2 separate regions of the Homo sapiens genome follow, and region 2 is linked to region 1. Evidence: promoter capture Hi-C in human tissues and cell types (Jung and others, 2019). All regions are on one chromosome and are shown on one strand. Each heading gives the region's core, a stretch centred on a gene start or on the middle of the fragment in contact. The rest is flanking DNA. Distances are from core to core; before and after follow the strand shown.

Evidence for each region. The method cuts DNA at HindIII sites, captures the fragments that hold promoters and counts their contacts. A contact is called where the count stands out against the background at its distance.
Region 2: a fragment that was not itself captured here is called in contact with the fragment with the promoter of DNASE1L2 in region 1 in 1 of the 25 tissues and cell types used here (spleen).

The regions. Positions count from the first base shown.
Region 1 is chr16:2,234,542-2,238,947 of GRCh38, forward strand. It overlaps DNASE1L2 (deoxyribonuclease 1 like 2), which reads left to right and starts at 1,903. Exons shown (of 7, transcript NM_001374.3): 1 at 1,903-2,019; 2 at 2,237-2,419; 3 at 2,497-2,585; 4 at 2,677-2,760; 5 at 2,835-3,108; 6 at 3,226-3,477; 7 at 3,821-4,170. The coding sequence starts at 2,276. The coding sequence ends at 3,877. E4F1 (E4F transcription factor 1) reads left to right here. Exons shown (of 14, transcript NM_004424.5): 11 at 42-240; 12 at 318-460; 13 at 540-602; 14 at 675-1,201. The coding sequence ends at 1,031. The HindIII fragment of the contact is 25,906 bases long and covers 1-4,406 here.
Region 2 is chr16:2,275,741-2,280,119 of GRCh38, forward strand. It overlaps ABCA3 (ATP binding cassette subfamily A member 3), which reads right to left. Exons shown (of 33, transcript NM_001089.3): 29 at 3,203-3,390; 30 at 2,548-2,718; 31 at 2,139-2,329; 32 at 1,857-1,930; 33 at 141-1,065. The coding sequence ends at 934. Among named protein-coding and RNA genes, the nearest start is that of MIR4717, 3.3 kb to the left of the region's middle. The HindIII fragment of the contact is 5,249 bases long and covers 1-4,379 here.

The sequences.
Region 1 (4,406 bases), core at 653-3,152:
TGTGGCCAAGGCCAGGCTGGCACTGACAGGTGTCTCCACAGAACGCACAGCAGGTGCACTTCAGGACACACCTGGAGGAGAAGCCGCACGTGTGCCAGTTCTGCAGCCGTGGCTTCCGAGAGAAGGGCTCACTGGTGCGGCACGTGCGACACCACACAGGCGAGAAGCCGTTCAAGTGCTACAAGTGCGGCCGTGGCTTCGCCGAGCACGGCACGCTGAACCGGCACCTGCGCACCAAAGGTCTGGGCCGGTGGAGGTGGGAGGGGGAGGGGAGGGGGCCGGGGCTTGCCTAGCCCTGACCGAGTCCCCACCCACAGGGGGCTGCCTGCTGGAGGTGGAGGAGTTGCTGGTGTCTGAGGACAGCCCCGCGGCAGCCACCACCGTCCTCACGGAAGACCCGCACACAGTGTTGGTGGAGTTCTCGTCCGTGGTAGCTGACACCCAGGAGTATATCATCGAGGTGGGTGTGGGGCCCTGGGGCCGTGCTGGGACCCAGGGGCAGCCAAGGCTGACCTCTGTCCTTCTGCCCATCTGCCCAGGCCACTGCGGACGATGCGGAGACCAGTGAGGCCACGGAGATCATCGAGGGCACCCAGACAGAGGTGAGGGGTAGGGCAGGCGGGGGCGGGGAGGCTCCCTGGCACAGCCGCTCTTGCTGAGCCGTGGCCCTGCAGGTGGACAGCCACATCATGAAGGTGGTGCAGCAGATCGTGCACCAGGCTAGCGCCGGCCACCAGATCATCGTGCAGAACGTCACCATGGACGAGGAGACGGCGCTGGGCCCAGAGGCGGCTGCCGCCGACACCATCACCATCGCCACCCCCGAGAGCCTGACAGAGCAGGTGGCCATGACGCTGGCCTCGGCCATCAGCGAGGGCACTGTGCTTGCCGCCCGGGCAGGGACAAGTGGCACTGAACAGGCCACTGTGACCATGGTGTCATCAGAGGACATCGAGATCCTGGAGCATGCAGGCGAGCTGGTCATCGCCTCGCCGGAGGGCCAGCTGGAGGTGCAGACGGTCATCGTCTAGCATGAGGTCTGCGGGGTCCTGGCCGGGCAGGGACAGGGCAGAGGACTCTGAGCGCCCCACCCATGCCTGCCTGGCCTGGTAGAGAAGATGGCACAGGATGGAGGCGCCCCAAGACGGACAGTGTACATAAGAGTTTCTTGTTGCTTTACAATAAAACATGAGAACCTGCAGCTTGTGATGTTGTGGCAGTGGCAGCCTCCGCGGCTGGTGCCACCACCTTTGCCCAGGCCCCCGCAGCAGCACCTGCCTCCCAGGCCACTCCTAGACTCACGTGCCTGGCCGCCCCACCCAGGGGCTTCTGCCAGCCCTGGCGGCGCCTTGGTGCTGTGTGGGTGTCATTGGCATGTTGACCAACAGCCTCCTGCCCTGCCCAGCTGGAGCTGTGCCCCCAGCTGCGCTGCCTGAGGCCTGTGGGTGGGTGGGAGGACCAGGGACGGGGACAGGGAGATCTGGGAGCCTCGGCCTCCACCGCAGGGTGAGCAGGTGGAGCAGCAGCAGGAGATGCTGGGTAGGGAGTGTGGCTGGTCCTACCTGCGCTGCCTTGCTTTCCCTGAAGGGATTCTGCTCAGGGAGGCAGAGTCTAGGCGACCTAATTTCTAGGGGCGAGGACAAGAACACAGCCGCACCGGGATGTGGCTGACCGTCTACCTCCCTCCTAGGGGGCTGGCAGGGGCTTCTGGGACGGTTTTGGGACAGGTCTGGGGCACCAGAACCGGCTCAGGCAGGTCTCCCACCCCTTACCCTGGGGGTCTCCATGGGAATGAAAGCCAGGAGTTCATCAGGCACCCAGCTGAGTCGAGGGGGCGGGACCCAGTGCAGCCCGGCCCCTCCCTGGCCCAGGACCTCAAATACCGGCCCCTGCCTTGGTGCCAGAGCTACTGCCAGAGGGAGTCAGTGCAGTCCTGTGTCGGACACGCCCGCAGCCTGGACCCGGGATCCCCATCCCCCTAGGATCTCTGAGCCTCGGGCCTCTGCACCCACATCCAAGGTGAGTCTCTCGGCTGCCCTGAGCTGGGGCTGGATGGGCCGGACCCTCCATTCCGGCTGCAGCTTCCCGCGCAGTGAGAAGGCAGCGGTCCCTGAGAGCCCAGCAGTGCCCTGGGAGCCTGCAGAACGCAGGGGCGGATTCCGCGTCGCACTGGCCGTCAAGGGGCGGCCGCGGAGGGAAGGGGTGGGTCGGTGGGTCTGACAGCGGGTCTGCGTAGGCGGCAGCGTCTGTCCCTCCCAGCCTCTCGCTCCGCGCCATGGGCGGGCCCCGGGCTCTGCTGGCCGCACTCTGGGCGCTGGAAGCCGCCGGGACCGCCGCGCTTCGCATCGGAGCCTTCAACATTCAGAGCTTCGGTGACAGCAAAGTGTCGGACCCCGCTTGCGGCAGCATCATCGCGAAGGTGGGGCCCGGGCCGGGGCGGGGCGGCGTTTAGGGGTGCTGACCGCGCTGACCCCCGCACCCGCCGCTCCTCCCCAGATCCTGGCTGGCTATGACCTCGCGCTGGTGCAGGAGGTGCGAGACCCAGACCTCAGCGCCGTGTCCGCGCTCATGGAGCAGATCAACAGGTGTGGTGGGCAGGGCCCCTCGTCGCGACCCCCCGCCGGGATCTCGCCCCGGCGCGGCGCCCCGACCCTGAGCGGGCCCCTGTCTCCGCAGCGTGTCCGAGCACGAGTACAGCTTTGTGAGCAGCCAGCCCCTGGGCCGGGACCAGTACAAGGAGATGTACCTGTTCGTGTACAGGTGAGGGGCGGGCCGCAGGGAGGGGCGCGCGGGGCCGCAGGTCGGGGGCTCAGCGGGTCCTCCCCATCTCCTAGGAAAGACGCGGTGTCGGTCGTGGACACCTACCTGTACCCAGACCCCGAGGACGTCTTCAGCCGCGAGCCCTTCGTGGTCAAGTTCTCGGCCCCCGGCACCGGTGAGCGGGCCCCGCCCCTCCCCTCCCGCCGAGCTCTGACGCCCCCACCCCTTCCCGCAGCAGCACAGAACCTGGTGCTGATCCCGCTGCACGCGGCGCCGCATCAAGCCGTGGCGGAGATCGACGCGCTCTACGACGTGTACCTGGACGTGATCGACAAGTGGGGCACCGACGTAAGCCCACCCCTCGGTCCCGGGGTCCCTGCAGGCGCGCCCCGGGGGTCTGGTTCATGAGGGCGGGACCTCGACGGCTCCTGCGGCGGCTCAGACACGGCTCCGCGGCGCCCGCAGGACATGCTGTTCCTGGGCGACTTCAACGCCGACTGCAGCTATGTGCGGGCGCAGGACTGGGCCGCCATCCGTCTGAGGAGCAGTGAGGTCTTCAAGTGGCTCATCCCTGACAGCGCCGACACCACGGTGGGCAACTCAGACTGCGCCTACGACCGCATTGTGGCCTGTGGCGCCCGCCTGCGCCGGAGCCTGAAGCCCCAGTCGGCCACCGTGCACGACTTCCAGGAGGAATTCGGCCTGGACCAGACTCAGGCGAGTGGGCCGTGGGGCGGTGCTGGTCTTGGGTCCCCACCGCCCGGGCGCACGCAGGCAGCAGGGAGGGTCCAGCGCCCAAGGCAGGGCCACCTCAGCTTCCTCCCTGCACCAGGGCTCGTTTCCAAGGACCCTGGAGAGCCCGGCCCACCCCATGTGGAGCTCTGGGCAGGCAGGGTACCTTGCCTTTCCCTCAAAGGGCCAGTGGTGACACCCTCTGCCCCGGCCCCTGCCCCTGCCCCACCGCAGGCAGCAGCAGGGGTGGGCACCCAGGCCTCACCGGCCCCTCCCATCCCTGTGGGTGGGGTGCACTTTTCCCCTGAGGCTCACTCTGTCCCCACAGGCTCTTGCCATCAGCGACCACTTTCCAGTGGAGGTGACCCTCAAGTTCCACCGATGACTCGAGGCCTGGCTGGGGCATGCCACCTGCAGACCCTGGCTCTGAGGAATGGCCCAACAGTGGCCCCTTCAGGGTGGCAGCCACCCTTCAGTGAGGCCCCAAGGCAGAGTCGGCTGGGCGTGGACCAGGGGCCATGGACACGTGATGTGCTGCTCTGTACCTCCGTTCCCCATCTGTGGGACGGGCTGCATCCAGCGACCTCATGGGGTGTTGTGAGCCCCATGAGGGGTGCAGGGGGCACTGCCCGGCAGATGTCTGCTCAATAAATGAGCTGCTCCCGGTCGGGCCCCACAGCTTGGCTCCCAGGCCTCTGTCCTTCCTTAGGACCCAGCCTCAGCTCCTTAGGGGCAGCCATGGCCTGGGCTGCCCACCCCATGTCCTGGTGGGACGTGGCTGCCCCCGGAGCCTGCTGGCCCCAGAAGGCAGCTCAGGGATGCTCCTTGCTCATCCTCTGTGGAAACTACAAACACTCCCAGGAGCCTGTACTGTGAGCACAGCTGGGACAGGGATGGCGCCAACACACCAGCCT
Region 2 (4,379 bases), core at 680-3,179, 41 kb after region 1:
TCTCTGCGTGTGCTCCCTTCTGGGAAAAGCAACGTCCCACGTTTGTGTGATTGAAATGTGAAAGGAGAGCCTCATGTCTAGATTGTGGGCGAGTGATTGAGCCCTGTGACCGCTCGCGCGTGTGACCCACAGACTGTGACTGTGTCCCCTCAGCATTTATTTTCTGGATGGTCACAACGTATTCAATGTGTCCTTGAGACAGCCACCCAGCCCTTAGGGTGGTCCCTGCGTGTCCTGGGGCGGGCGACTTCCTGAGGGTGCAGTGCTGGAAACAGAGACTGCTTCGAGCCTGGCCACCTTCCCTCCTGTGCCGGCTGCTTCTAGGAGATGCTGTGGGACGGTGCCCGGCTTCGCGGTGACTACCATGCCCTAAGGAGCAGAGCCTCCAGGATGCCCCCGGGCTGCGCTGGACGCTAAGACCCCAGCACCTAATCACAGTCAGCAGCTTCCCTCCACTGACAGTGATCTGCATGGTCCATTCCTGGCGGCCTGGGGGCCTCGCTACAGTTCAACCTGGCTGGCTTCCCGCTTCCTCCCCAGGGGAGATTAGTGTCGTGTGTAAACTTGGACAAGTCACTGGGTCCTCTCTCCAGGGAGTGCCTGGAGAAATTCAACCCCCAGCTCAGCTGCAGCCCTTCCTGGGTCAGCTCTCCACCCAGAGACCCCGGAGCTTGCCCGCAGACTGCCCGGCCTGCCCCAGCTCTGGGAAAGTGAACTCCAGAGTATGCAGACATGGAGATGCGCATGCTGATCCTGGGCATGAGGGCTGGGCTGCACTCGTCCATTCTGTGCATACTGCCTTGAATTTTTCATATCCATCATAGAAAAAAGTGATTAAAAATAAAGGATGAGATAAACTTGGAGAGAGAGGATGTAAGATGGGCCCTGCTTGCCCGTCCTGTCCCTGCCTGATGGCGAGACAGCCGCCACCCCTCATCGCCCCTCCTCTGCGGTGGGCGGCTGCAGGTGGGCGAAGCTCAGGAAGACCTGTTCCAGCGAGATCTGGCTCACGGAGTAGTCGTCCACGCCGTACTTTTCCTTGGCTTTCTCCAGAATACCGAAAACCTTTGGGGAGCAGAAAAGTCACTGGTAGGAGAGAACAGGGCCCAGGCTCCTCTGCGGGACCTGGGAGTCCTCTGGCAATAGGGGCTGATGAGGCCCCCACAATCCTACCCCTGCCCAGCGCCACCCCAGAGCCCCAGAGAGGTCAGCCCTGCGACGGCACCGTGCTCCCAGGTAGAGGACGCTGGCTAAGCAGGAGCCAGCGGGGATGGGGCCCAGCCTCCTCCCTGTGCTGTTCCCAGCTCAGATTACAACCTTGAGCCAGTGATGTTCCCTTTCTGAGCCAGTTCTTTTTTTCCCCCATATTTTTTTAGAGAGAGTCTTGCTCTGTAGCCCAGGCTGGAGTGCAGTGGCACAATCATAGCTCACTGCAGTCTCGAACTCCCAGGCTCAAGCGATCCTCCCACCTTAGCCTCCCGAGTGGCTGGGACTACAGGTATGCATGATACCTGGCTAATTTTTAAATTTTTTGTAGAGACGGGGTCTATGTTGCCCAGGCTGGTCTAGAACTCCCAGGCTTAAGCAATCCTCCCTCCTCGGCCTCCCAAAGTGCTGGGATTATGGTGTGAGCCACCATCCCTGACCCCTTTCCTGTTTTACACTGAATTCCTTTTACCACTGATAATTTTGGATATAAAACCCCCAAACCAGCACGTATCAGGCTGAGTGTTAGGGGAGAAATGGAAAGTGACTCCTCTGTGGAAAGAGCCTGCAGTCACCACAGAGGGAGAGACCCCTGGAGGGACCTCCCCCTGCCCCATGAGTGCCCAGTGGGGCCCCAGGGACTGCCTCACCTTCGCCCAGCTGAGGTCACGGCCCGGCAGGTGGTAATGGACCATGCCTTGGTGCTCATCTTCCAGGACGCTGCCTGCACAAAGGAGAGACGGTGTTGCTGTGAGCGCCGGGCTGGAGGATCGGGGAGGGTGCCTGGGTGCTCAGCACTGGAGTCCTCGTCCCAGGGATTGGGGAGATGGGACTTGGCGGGGCGAGGCACAGACGCTCCGCACAGCAGATGGGAGAGGCCTAGGTAGGGGCCCAGGGCCCACCCAGTGGGGGCTGCCGGGGCCGGCACACACCTGGAAAGGTCAGGTCCACGAAGGCCTTGAACTCCTCCAGCGCCTCCTGTTGCCCTTCACTCTGCACCTTGGCCCGCAGGGAGTAGCCGCTGCCGAACTTGCTCTTGAGGTGCTGGGGGCTGCCCAGGCACTTGAACTGCCCCTGCACCATGATGGCCAGCCGGGTGCACAGGGCCTCACACTCCTCCATGCTGTGGAGAGGGCGGGACCTCAGATAGGGCTTGGGGTGCCAAAGGCTTGTGCAGACAGGAAGGCATTGGCTCTCCGATCAGGCTGTTCCTGATACCCATGCTCAGTGTGGCTCACGGGCAGACTCTGCACCAGATGCTGATGGGTCTCCTGGCCACCTGGCTCCTCCATGGCCCACCCGGTGCTGAAACTTCCAGTAACCCACAGACCCAGGCTCTACCTGTGGGAGGTGATGATGATGGCCTTGCCAGACTCTCGGGCTCGTGCCACGGTGTCCCAAAGCAGGCGCCGGGCCACGGGGTCCATGCCAGTGGACGGCTCGTCCAGGAAGATGACAGCAGGCTCTCCGATCAGGGCGATGCCGGTGCTCAGCTTCCGCTTGTTACCACCACTAGAGGCAGGAGGGTGCCAGGTGGGGGAATAAGGCTGAGAGTTAGCATTGGCTCCCATGTCCCAGTGGAGGCCCGTGTCCCAGCAGCGGCCCACACCCAGCAATTGCAGAACAGCCCTAGTGAAGAGGAAGGAGCTGTGTGTGCACCTGGAAAGCCCACCGCATAGGGCTGGAGGCCCCAGAGAAGGCTGTTCCCAGGGGCCCGGTGCACGCACCTACATGGGAAGACATCTGCCTGCACCTAAAGGGGACCTGCCGACCCTGACATCTCTCACTGCTGGCTTTGTCCCTAGGTGGCAGGCACTGTCAGGGCAGTCCCTTTCCTACGTGGAGCTACCTGGGTCACACCACCACATCCCAGCTCCATCCTGGAGCCACAAGCAGGAGCTCTGGCTGCTGACCTGAGCGGTCACTCCCAGCTCTATGCTATGGGGACCTTGATTCTGACTCCACTCTGGGAAGGGCCAGGGCTCGGGAGGTGCACCTGTACGTCCTGACCAGCTTGTTGGCATGTGGCTCCAGCAGCAGGCCCCGCAGAGTGTTCTCCACGCAGGCCCCGATGTGGCGCTCAGGGATGCCCCGGAGCCGAGCGTACATGACCAGCATCTCCCGGCCTGTCATGTGGTCCAGCAAGGCATCAAACTGCGGGCAGTAGCCGATCCGCTGCCGCACCTGGGGTCGGAGCATAGCCGGGGAGGGAGGCGGGTTGGAGGGAAGCCTCCTTCCTCCAGAGGACCACGGGGACTACCCTTGAGGTGCCCACCACTGCGCCTGTCTGTGGTTCCTGCCAGTGTGTGTACACGGGGGCGCTGGAGCTATGCACAGGCCGTGGTGGCTGCCCACAGTGGAAGCTCTTGGAACAGGGACACAGGAAGGATGTGCCTGGTGCAGGGAGGCTTCCAGAGCTGCTCTCAGAGCCTGGTCCAGGACAGGCAGCCATGGGGTTAGGTGGTGCAAGAATGGCCTTTACGTAGAAGCAGACTCAGAGCTGGCTACCCACTCATTCACACCTGGGACATCTGATGTGCTAGGACTCTTTCTTCTCCCTCTAAGAAGAAAGATTTGTGGGCACCACGTTTGGGGTGAGTACTGCTTGGTCAGATGGTGCAGCAGCTGTTCTCTGCACAAGTGACCACGTCCAGCTGAATTAAGACGTGCCTGCTGCCATCTGCTTAGCTACCTTCAGCAGCTGGTCGGGGGCAGGAGTGCCTGGGTTCTGTGGATTCCAGAGACTGGATTTCTTTTTCTTTACCTTCCTTCTTTGGGGTTCTCAAGCTTCCAGAATTTTTTTTTTTTTTTTTGAGACAGAGTCTTACTCTGTCTCCCTTACACTGGTAGAGCGCAGTGGCATGATCTCGGCTCACTACAACCTCTGCCTCCCAGGCTCAAGTGATTCTCATGCCTCAGGCTCCCGAGTAGCTAGGATTATAGGCACCTGCCACCATGCCCTGCTAATTTTTGTATTTTTCTTTGGTAGAGACAGCATTTTGCCATGTTGGCCAGGCTGGTCTCGAACTCTAGACCTCAAGTGATCTGCCTGCCTTGGCCTTCCAAAGCTGGGATTATAGGCGTGAGCCACGCTCCCAGCCCAGAATCTGTTTTTAATCAGTTTGGGGAAAGTCTTAGCCACTACCTTTTTGGCTACTACCCCCTGCCACTCT